2 separate regions of the Homo sapiens genome follow, and region 1 is linked to region 2. The links are contacts of gene promoters, found by promoter capture Hi-C in human tissues and cell types (Jung and others, 2019). All regions are on one chromosome and are shown on one strand. Each heading gives the region's core, a stretch centred on a gene start or on the middle of the fragment in contact. The rest is flanking DNA. Distances are from core to core; before and after follow the strand shown.

Region 1 (5,646 bases), core at 1,006-3,505, 79 kb after region 2:
ATAGCTAAAGATGTAAGGAACATGTAATTGGACTCCCAGAAGCAGAGAAGAGACAATGAATCAGAAAAAAAAGTGAAGAAATAATAGTAGGAAATACCTCAAATTTTGCAATAGGCTAAGATTCAAAAAGCTTAATGAACCCTAACCTGGAGAAATACAAAGAAAATAATTCCTAGGCCTAGTGGAGTCAAACTGCTGAAATCCAAAGACAAAGTGAAAATCTTGAAAGTAGACAGAGAAAACATTACAACATAGTATGACTGTGGACTTTTTATTAGAAACTGGAGGTCACAGAAGGAATAGTATCTTTAAAGTGCTAAAAGAAAAAAGAACCATCATCCCAGAATTCCGTATTCAGTAAAAATATCCTTCAAGAATAAAAGCAAAAAGAAAATTGTTTGGTAGATAAAATAAAACTAAGAGAATTTATTGTCTAAGAGACCTACACTACAAGATATGCTAAAGGAAGTTCTTTAGGTTAAAGAGAGGTAATACGAGATGGAAACTCAGATCTTTAGGAAGAAATGAAGAGTATGGTATGTGTCTGGGCAAATATAAAGTACTATTTAAAAACAAATTCTTGGCTGGGCGTGGTGGCTCATGCCTGTAATCCCAGAACTTTGGGAGGCCGAGGTGGGCAGATCACCTGAGGTCAGGAGTTTGAGACCAGCCTGGCCACCATGGTGAAACCCTGCTTCTATTAAAACATACAAAAATTAGCCAGGCATGGTGGTGTGCACCTGTAATCCCAGATACTCGGGAGGCTGAGGCATGAGAATCACTTGAACCCAGGAGGCAGAGGTTGCAGTGAGCCAAGATCATGCCTCTACACTCCAGCTTGGGTGACAGAAAAAGACTGTCTCAAAGAAAAAAAAAATTCTTGGAAGTCCTAGCCAGAGCAATCAGTCAAGAGAAAGATATAGAAGACATTCAAATAGCAAAAGAAAAAGTCAAACTATCTCTCTTTGTTAATGATATGATTCTATACTTAGAAAACCTAAGGACTCTTCCAGAAGGCTTCTGGAACTGATAAACAACTTCAGTAAAGTTTCAGGATACAAAGATCAGTAGCATTTCTATGCACCAATAATGTTCAAGCTGAGAGCCAAATCAAGAACACAATCCCATTTACAGTAACTGCAAAAAACAAACAATAAAAAAAGCCCAAATCTAGGAATACATCTAACCAAGGAGGTGAAAGATCTCTACAAGGACAACTACAAAATACTGACTGAAAGAAATAATAGATGACAAAAACAAATGAAAAGACATTCCATGCTCATGGATTGGAAGAATTAGTAACATTACAGTGGCCATACTGCCCAAAGCAATCTACAGATTCAACGCTATTTCTATCTATGTCATTTTTGACAAAACTATAAAAAACTATTCTAAAATTCAGAAGAAACCAAAAAAAGAGCCCAAATAGCCAAAGCAGCCCTAGGCAAAAAGAACAAAGCCAGAGGCATAACATTACCTGACTTCAAACTATACAGAATACAGAACTCAAAAATAAAGCCACACACCTACAGCCATCTGATCTTCAACAAAGTTAACAAAAATAAGCAATGAGGAAAGGACTTTTTTTCTTTTTTCTTTCTTTTCTTTTTTTTTTTTTTTTTTAGACAGAGTCTTGCTCTGTCACCCAGGCTGGAGTGCAGTGGCACGATCTGGGCTTATTGCACTGCCTCCCGGGTTCCAGTAATTCTCCTGCCTCAGCCTCCCAAGTAGCTGGGACTACAGGTGTGTGCCATCATGCCTGGCTAATTTTTCATTATTAGTAGAAACAGAGTTTCACCATGTTGGCCAGGCTGGTCTCAAACTCCTGACCTCAGGTGACCCACCCGCTTCAGCCTCCCGAAGTGCTGGGATTACAGGTGTCAGCCACCGTGCCTGGCAAGGAAAGGTCTTTCTATTCAATAAATGGTGCTAAGATAGTTGTCTCTCCATGTGCAGAAAAATGAAACTGGACCCCTACCTTTCACCATATATTATACAATAATTAACTCAAGACGGACTAAAGATTTAAATGTAAGACCTCAAACTATAAGAATCCTAGAAGAAAACCTAGGAAACACCATTCTGGACATTGGCCTTCGGAAATAATTTATGGCTAAGTTCTCAAAAGCAATTTCAACAAAACAAAAAATTGACAAATGGGACCTAATTAAACTAAAGAGCTTCTATACTACAAAAAAAAAAAAAACTATCAGCAGAGTAAACAGACAGCCTACAGAGTGGGAGAAAATATTTGCAAACTGTGCACCTAACAAAGGTCTAATATTCGGAATATATGAGGAACTTAAATAGTTCAGCAAGCAAAAAACAAATAACTCCATTAAAAAATGGGCAAAAGACATGAACAGACACTTTGCAGAAGAAGACATACAAGTGGCCAACAAACGTATGAAAAAATGCTCCATATCACTAATCATCATAGAAATGCATGTCAAAACCACAATGAGATATCATCTCACACCAGCTAGAATGGCTATTATTAAAAAGTCAAAAAACAACAAATGCTGCTCAGGTTGCAGAGAAAAGAGAACACTTACTTATACATTGCTGGTGGGGATGTAAATTATTTTAGCCACTATGGAAAGCAGTTTGGAGATTTCTCAAAGAAAACAAAACTACCATTCAACCCAGTAATCCTATTAATTGGCATATATCCAAAAGAAATAAATTATTTCATCAAAAGGTCACATGCACTCATATGTTCATTGGAGCATTATTTACAATAACAAAGACATGGAATCAACCTTGGTGCCTATCAGTGGTGGATTGGATAAAGAAAATGTGGTATATATACATGATGGAATATTACACAGACATAAAAAAGAATGAAATCATACCCTTTGCAGCAGCATGGATGCAGCTGGAGGTCATTATCCTAAGCAAATTAATGCAAAACCGGAAAACCAAACGCCACACGTTCTCACTTTCAAGTGGGAGTTAAACATTGGGTACTCATGGACATAAAGGTGGAAACAATAGACACTGGGGACTACTAGAGGGGAGAGCGAAGAAGGGCGACAAGGGTCGAAAAACTAACTATTGGGTACTATGCTCAGTACCTGGGTGGCAGGATCAATCATACACCAAAGCTGAGCGCCATGCAATATATCCAGCTAACAAATCTGTACATGTACCCCCTGAATCTAAAATTAGAGTTGAATTTTTTTTTTGGAAAAAGAATTTTAGGAAACTACCTACCTTCCCAACCCCTCTTTATTTCCAAATCTCTGCCCTTTTATGGTAATACAATGATCTGTAATTATTTTCCTTTACTCAATCCCATTTGTAAATGTTTTAGAGGAGAGAATAAATAATGGAAAAGGAAAATAAAAGAATATTTTGTAAATAATACTTCAATATAGCTGGAAAAAATTAGAGTATGTAGGGCCGCTTACAACAAAATTTATGACATTGTCTCATGGTATTTATAAAATGCATGTAAATATAATACATATGCAACAATAGCATAAAAAATAATACAATATTAACTCTAATTTGACTGTGAGACGTGAAGGATATATATTGTAGTCCCTAAAACAACTGCTGACAAAATAATGCAAAGAGGTACAGCTAAAAGGCCAATAGATACTTCTAAAGGTAATTTTAAAAACATTCAAATAATCCAAAAAATAGATAAATGAAGGAACAGGGGATGAAGTGCATGCATGTGCGCAAGCACACACACACACAAAACCACATACACACACACCAGACACAAAAGGAAGGGGCAAGCAGAAAATAGATACAAATAGTGGTAGACCCAAATCCAGCTCTATAAAAAATACTCTAAATGTTAATGGACTAAACACTCCAATTCAAAGGCAGAAGCAATAAGAATGAATAAAAAAGCAAGACTCAACTATATTGTTCACAAGTACTTACCTTTAAATATAAGGACAAGTTGAAAGTAAATGAATGGGAAAAAATATACTATGTAAACAATAAACATTAGAAGGATAGAGTAAAAATATCAGGCAAAGTAAACTTTAAGACAAAGAGCATTAACACAAATAAAGACATTTCGTAATGCTAAGAGTAAATTCATCAGGGAGACAGTAATCATAAGTGTGTTTGCATCTAACAATAGAGCTTTAAAATACATGAAGCAAAATTTGACAGAATTAGAGGGAAAAATAGACAATTCTATGATCATAGTTGGAGATTTAAATACCATCCTATTGGCAATTTATAAAACTAGACAAAAACATCAACAATAACCATGAAAAATTGACAATTTAGATTTTATCAAAATTAAAAACTTCTGCTCAAAACAAAACATGCTATTAAGAAAATGAATAGGCAAGTTACAGACAGAAAATATTCACAAAACATAAACCTGACAAATGGTTGGTATCTGGGATATACAAAGAACTTCCACAGCTCAGTTATAAAAAAAAAAACCTCAAAAAAATTCAAAAGATTTGAATAGCTACTTGACAAAAGTAGATATATAAATGGCCAATAAATGTACATCAAAGAGCTTAACAAGGCCGGGTGCTGTGGCTCACGCCTGTAATCCCAGCACTTTGGGAGGCTGAGGCGGGCGGATCACGAGGTCAGGAGATTGAGACCATCCTGGCTAATACGGTGAAACCCTGACTCTACTAAAAATACCAAAAATTAGCCGGGCATGGTGGCGGGCGCCTGTAGTCCCAGCTACTCGGGAGGCTGAGGCAGGAGAATGGCGTGAACCCGGGAGGCAGAGGTTGCAGTGAGTCGAGATCGCGCCACTGCACTCCAGCCTGGGCGACAGAGCGAGACTCTGTCTCAAAAACAAAACAAAACAAAACAAAAAAAAGAGCTTAACATTATTAGTCATCAGAGAAATGCAAATTAAGATTACAATGACATACTACTACATACTCCCCAGGATTGCTATTTTTTCCTCAGCTTTAAAGGATGACTATTATTAAAAAGGCTGACAACATCAAATTTTGGTGAGAATGTGGAATAACCACACCTATTCATCATTGTTGATAACAATGCAGAATGGTACAACTACTTTGGGAAAACGGCCATTTAAAAAAAATAAAGCTAAACATACACCTATCCCATGACTCACAATTTCCACTCATAGGCATTTATTCATAAGAAATGGAAATGTTTGTTTTCAAAAAGTTTATAGTAGCTTTATGCAAATACCCCCAACTAGAAATAGCCCAGGTGACCAACAATAGTAGAATGGATGAAGAAACTCAGGCATAACTATAGAATGGGACTCTGTGGAGCAACAGAGAGGAAGAAACTACTGATGGATGCAGCGACATGCAAGAATCTTAAAAACATTATGCTCAGTGAATGACGACTGAAAAAACACACACCCAAAAGTATCAGGGCCATTTAAATGAAATTCTGAAACAGGTAAAAGTAGTCCATAGTGGAGAAAGTCAGAAATGTGGTTGACTTTGAAGAGTTGATGATGGAGATTGACTGTGAAGGGGAAAGAGGAACTTTGGGGTAATGATATTGCTCTATATCTAGATAAGGAATTGGATTTCACAGATGTATGCATTTGTCTTGACTCAGTGGATGTACAATTAATAGTTTTGCACTTATAAGTTTTTTGCACTTGTAAATTTTATAACAGAAGAAAAAAACTGTAAACAAATACTGAATTCCAGCTAGTTA
Region 2 (5,456 bases), core at 2,709-5,208:
GCTGGGGTTACAGGCATGAGCCACAGCGCCCAGCCCTTTCTCGCTTTTTATCAATCTTCTTTCATCAATTTAGGTAGGACCATATCACTTAGGGCAGGACTATTAGAGTCAGTGCTGGGTACTCATTCAGTTGATTTAATAGAATATTTTGAAAGTTTTTATTAGGACAAAAGCAATATAGTTTCATTCTTGGAGAAATTAAAAAATATAAGCAAGCAAAAAGAAGAAAATAAACAAACAAACAAAAAATCCCCTCTCTCCATCCTATCTAGCCACTTGAATATCCTATTGTAAAGCTTTCAAAAATTCTGGCCAGGCGCAGTGGCTCATGCCTATAATCCCAGCATTTTGGGAGGTCAAGATGGATGGATTGCTGGACCTCAGGAGTTTGAGACTGGCCTGGGCAACATGGCAAAATCCCATCTCTACAAAAAAAAAAAAAAAAAAAAATAATAATAATAATAATAAAGAAAATTATCCAGGCATGGTGGCACATGCCTGTAGTCCCAGCTACTTGGGAGGCTGAGGTGAGAGGATCACTTGAGCACCACAGGTTGACACTGCTGTGAGCCATGATTATGCCACTGCACTCCAGCCTGGGAAACAGAGTGATACCTTGTCTCAAAAAAAAAAAATTATTTGTCTGCTTTCACACACACGCATACACACACACACACACATTCATATACAGTTCTTTTTTTTTTTTTTGAGACGGAGTTTCGCTCTTGTCACCCAGGCTGAAGTGCAGTGGTGCGATCTCAGCTCACTGCAACCTCTGCCTCCCGGGTTCAAGCGATTCTCCTGCCTCAGCCTCCCCAGTAGCTGAGATTACAGTCATGTGCCACCATGCTCGACTAATTTTTGTAGTTTTAGCAGAGACAGGGTTTCACCATGTTCGCCAGGCTGGTCTCGAACTCCTGACCTCTGGTGATTCACCCGCCTCACCTCCCAAAGTGTTGGGATTACAGGCGTAAGCCCCCACACCTGGCCACATTTCTTATGTTTAGTAGATATTTCAGTTCTGCAAAAATCCATAATAACAGCTTTAAGATATAATTTATATACCATAAATTCATAAAGTGCACCATTCAGTGGTTTTAGTATATTCACACAATTGGTGATGTGATAGTGGTGATGCATAGCGTGATGGTTATCATCACCACTATCTAATTCCAGAACATTTTTATCACTCCAAAAAGAAACCCCATAGCCAATAGCAGTCACTCCCCATACAATATGTGGTCTTTTTTGTCTGACTTCTTTCACCTACCATAACGTTTTCAAGGTTCTTCCATGTTGTAAGCATGGATCAGAACTTCATTTCTTTTTATGTGTGACAGATATTCCATTGTATGGATATACTACATTTTGTCTATCCATTCATCAGTTGGGGAACATTAGGTTGTATTCATTTTTTTATTATATGACTAACGCTGCTATAAACATTTATGTACAAGTTTTTGTGTGGATATATATTTTCAGTTCTCTTGAGTATGTTCTTAGGATTGGAATTGCCAGATCACATGGTCATGTTATGTTTAAGTTTTTGAGGAATTGCCAAAGTGTCTGCACCATTTTACATTCCCATCAGTAATCTGTGAGGGTTCCAACTTCTCCACATCCTCACAAATACTTGTTATTATCTATCTTTTTGATTATAACTATCCCAGTGTGTGTGAAGTAGTATCTCATTGTGGTTTTGGTTTGCATTTTCCTGATGGCTAATGATGTTGAGCGTCTTCCATGGTCATGCTTATCGACCATTTTTATATTTGCCCACTACTTTTTAAAAAATGGTTGAGTTGTAAGAGTTTATTCTGGATATGAATTTCTAATTAGATATATGGTTTGCAAATATTTTCTTCTATCTTGCGGATTGTCTTCTACTTTCTTTTTTTTTTTTTTTTTGAGATGGATTCTCAGTTTCCCAGGCTAGAGTGCAGTGGCACAATCTCAGCTCACTGCAACTTCTGCCTCCTGGGTTCAAGTGATTCTCCTGCCTCGGCCTCCCTAGTAGCTGGGATTTCAGGTGTGCACCACCATGCCCAGCTAATTTTTGTATTTTTAGTAGAAAATTTCATCATGTTGGCCAGGCTGGTCTTGAACTCCTAACCTCAGGCGATCAACCCATCTTGGCCTCCCAAAGTGCTGGGATTACAGGCATGAGCCACTGTGCCTGGCCATCTTTCGCTTTCTTGAGGGTGCCTTGGAAGCACAAAAGTTTTAAAATTTGGTAAGTTTCAATTTATCTTTGTGTGTGTGTGTGTGTGTGTTTTGAGACAGATTTTTGCTCTGTTGCCCAGGTTGGAGTGTAGTGCCATGATCTTGGCTCACTGCAACCTCCGCTTCCCGGGTTCAAGTGATTCTCCTGCCTTGGCCTCTGGAGTAGCTGGGATTACAGGCACATGCCACCATGCCTGGCTAAGTTTTGTATTTTTAGTAGATACAGGGTTTCACCATTTTCCCCAGGCTAGTCTTGAACTCCTGACCTCAGGTGATCCACCCACCTCGGCCTCCCAAAGTACTAGGATTACAGGCATGAGCCACCGTGCCCGGCCCAATTTATATTTTTCTTTTGTTGCTTGCGCTTTTGATATCATAGCTAAGACAGCATTGCTAATCCAAAGTCATGAAGATTTTCTCCTGTGTTTTTCCCTTAGAATTTTATAGTTTTAGCTTTATAGTTTAGCTCTCTAAATGTAAAATTTAGAGATCTTAAATCCATTTTGAGTTAATTTTTGCATATAGTATGAGGTGGGGATCCTACTAGATTATTTTGGGATGTCCAGTTTTCCCAGCAGCGTTTATTAAAAATATTATTCTTTTCCCATTGAATAGTCTTGGCACCCTGTTGAAAATCCAGTGACCATAAATGTAACGGTTTATTTCTGAGCTCTCAATTCTATTCCATTGATCTATGTTTATCGTTATGTCGGTACTACACTGTCTTGATTACTGTAGTTTTGTATTAAGTTTTAAAACTAGGAAGCGTGAGTCCACTGACTTCATTCTTTCTCAGAATCGTTTTGGATTTTCTAGGTCTCTTGCATTTCCACATGAATTTTAGGATCAGCTTGTCAATTTCTGAAAAAAAAAAAAGTCGGGATTTTGATCCCTATCAAAATCCATTGTGTTGAATTGTAGGTTGCTTTAGGAAATATTGCCATCTTCACAATATTGTCTCCTAATCCATGAACATGGGAGGCTTTTCCACTCATTTAGGTCTTTTAACATTTCTTTCAAAGAGGTTTTGCAATTTTTATTGTACAAATATTGCATTCCTCTAATTTCTTCGAGGGCCTATGTGGGTTCTGTTTTAGTAGGGTGTTCTGCATATAAGACCAAGCATCAGTCCGGGGTCGTGGGGGGAGGGGGTCTTCTCTGTTCTGAGGCCATCATGGCAGGTGGCGTACCTCACTCAATCTCTGTTAGCTTATTTGTAAAATTGAGCAGATTAGGCATCTAAAGGATTTCCTCTAAGGTTCCTTTCCAGGTTGGCAAATTACAACTTGCATTATTGGCTGTCTTTTAAATATGTACGTTCCACCACTCCCAGTTCCCTGGCTCAGCCTGTGGCTGCAGTGCCACAGGGATCCTAGGTGCACAGTGTTGAGGAGTTGACGACTCAACACTTGGCTGGGAAATCGAAATGTCTTTGATGTGAGTTCTGTAGGTAGTGGCAGTTTCCTCTGCTCTCAACCAAATTCGTTTACAAGCCTCCTTTACTCTTAGGTCACAGGTGGCTTTTCTGGCTTTGACCTGAGCGGTGAGTATCCAGAGAGGAGAACGATCTAATTAATTTCTGTCCTGGCGCCTGGAGGGTTCGAAGATCCCAGGCTCCCGTTCCCGCCGCCTGGGTGGGAGCCCGGGAACGCCTCTCCCATTCCCCGCCCGCGAAGTTTGCAGCGCGCCTCGCGCGGGAGAGACGCCGTCTGCTGGCGCGCGGCTGAGCGCTGTCAGTTCCTGATCCGGCTGGTGCCCGCTCCAGCCGCGGCAGGTTCCAGAGCTGAGAGGCCACCCCCACGCCGCGGGCTTCCAGCGCGTGGAGCAAGGGGAGCGGCCCCGGCGCCGCCCATATCCCCGGCTGCGCTAGTCCTGGCGCTGCAGGTCCGGGAGGCGCAGGCGGAGAGCGGCGGTGCCCCCGAGCCCCTCTGCGGACGGCTCAGGCGGGAGGACCCCGCGCGGCTGGATGGCGGCGGCCGCGCGGCCTCGGGGTCGGGCACTGGGGCCAGTACTGCCGCCGACGCCGCTGCTCCTGCTGGTACTGCGGGTGCTGCCAGCCTGCGGGGCGACCGCTCGGGATCCCGGGGCCGCGGCCGGGCTCAGCCTTCACCCGACTTACTTCAACCTGGCCGAGGCGGCGAGGATTTGGGCCACCGCCACCTGCGGGGAGAGGGGACCCGGCGAGGGGAGGCCCCAGCCCGAGCTCTACTGCAAGTTGGTCGGGGGCCCCACCGCCCCAGGCAGCGGCCACACCATCCAGGTGAGGGCCTCGGAGAGAGCCGGGGTGGGCGCGCCTTTTCCTTCCCGCGCCGGCCAGACACCCGGAGAAGGGATCGGGCCCTTTCCTCACGCGCGCTAGTGGCTCCGGGCGACTGGGAAGGGCAGCCCCCATCCCCGCGCGCGAGGGCCCACGACCCAGGAGCGATCTCGTGGAAGCACCGCACCGGCACCACCGGCCCGAGGCGAGGAGGGGGAGCACGCGAGGTGACATGAGGCTGTGGTCAGGTTCGGGCTGGTGGAGGGGAAAGTGTGAGGCTGCGCTCTAAGAGATGCAGGCGCCTCGGCCCTTCCCGCCTCCGTCACCCACGGAGCGTCCCGCCAGGCTTGAGTCCTCGAGGGTTCAGGGGCGCCTCCTGCCCCACCTCCCGGGCCTTATTCGGAGAAGTCGGTGGCAATTACCTTCTGTGGTGTATTTTAAGAGAGAATTTTTAGGTTATAACAGCGGTATCACTCTAATGTTACTGAAAAGATTCACTTCACTGCACTGCCTGAAGTGCCACCATCCAGTCATTGGGGGCGAATGAGACCTTAGGCGGACAGAGATAGAAAGGCTCTCAGAGATCCGAGCCTCACCGCGAACACCCGGGGCAAACGACATTGCGGTGCATGTTAAGCAGCATCTTGCAGTGCCTGGCCCTTACTCACAGGTCTCAGCCAGGCAAGAGTGCAGTGGTGCGATCACGGCTCACGGCAGCCTCGAACTCCTGGGCTCAAGGGATCCTCCCGCCTCAGCCTTGGGCGTAGCTGGGACTACAGGCGTGCCCCCCCGTGCCTGGCAATTTTTTTTTTTTTTTTTTGAGACAGAGTCTCGCACTGTCGCCGGGGCTGAAATGCAATGGTGCGATCTCGGCTCACTGCAACCTCAGGCCTGGCAATTATTTATTTATTTATTTATTTATTTATTTATTTATTTATTTATTTATTTTTCTGTAGAGACAGAGTCTGGCTATTTT

Evidence for each region. Contacts are between HindIII fragments. The study calls those that stand out against the background at their distance.
Region 1: a contact is called between a fragment that was not itself captured here and the fragment with the promoter of LAMA3 in region 2, in 2 of the 25 tissues and cell types used here (dorsolateral prefrontal cortex and lymphoblastoid cells).

What each region holds. Positions count from the first base shown.
Region 1 is chr18:23,765,974-23,771,619 of GRCh38, forward strand. All of the region lies in intron 8 of LAMA3 (laminin subunit alpha 3), which reads left to right. Among named protein-coding and RNA genes, the nearest start is that of LAMA3, 79 kb to the left of the region's middle. The HindIII fragment of the contact is 6,883 bases long and covers 1-5,646 here.
Region 2 is chr18:23,685,495-23,690,950 of GRCh38, forward strand. LAMA3 (laminin subunit alpha 3) reads left to right here and starts at 3,959. Exons shown (of 75, transcript NM_198129.4): 1 at 3,959-4,483. The coding sequence starts at 4,190. RefSeq lists an enhancer at 3,318-3,867. The HindIII fragment of the contact is 10,376 bases long and covers 1-5,456 here.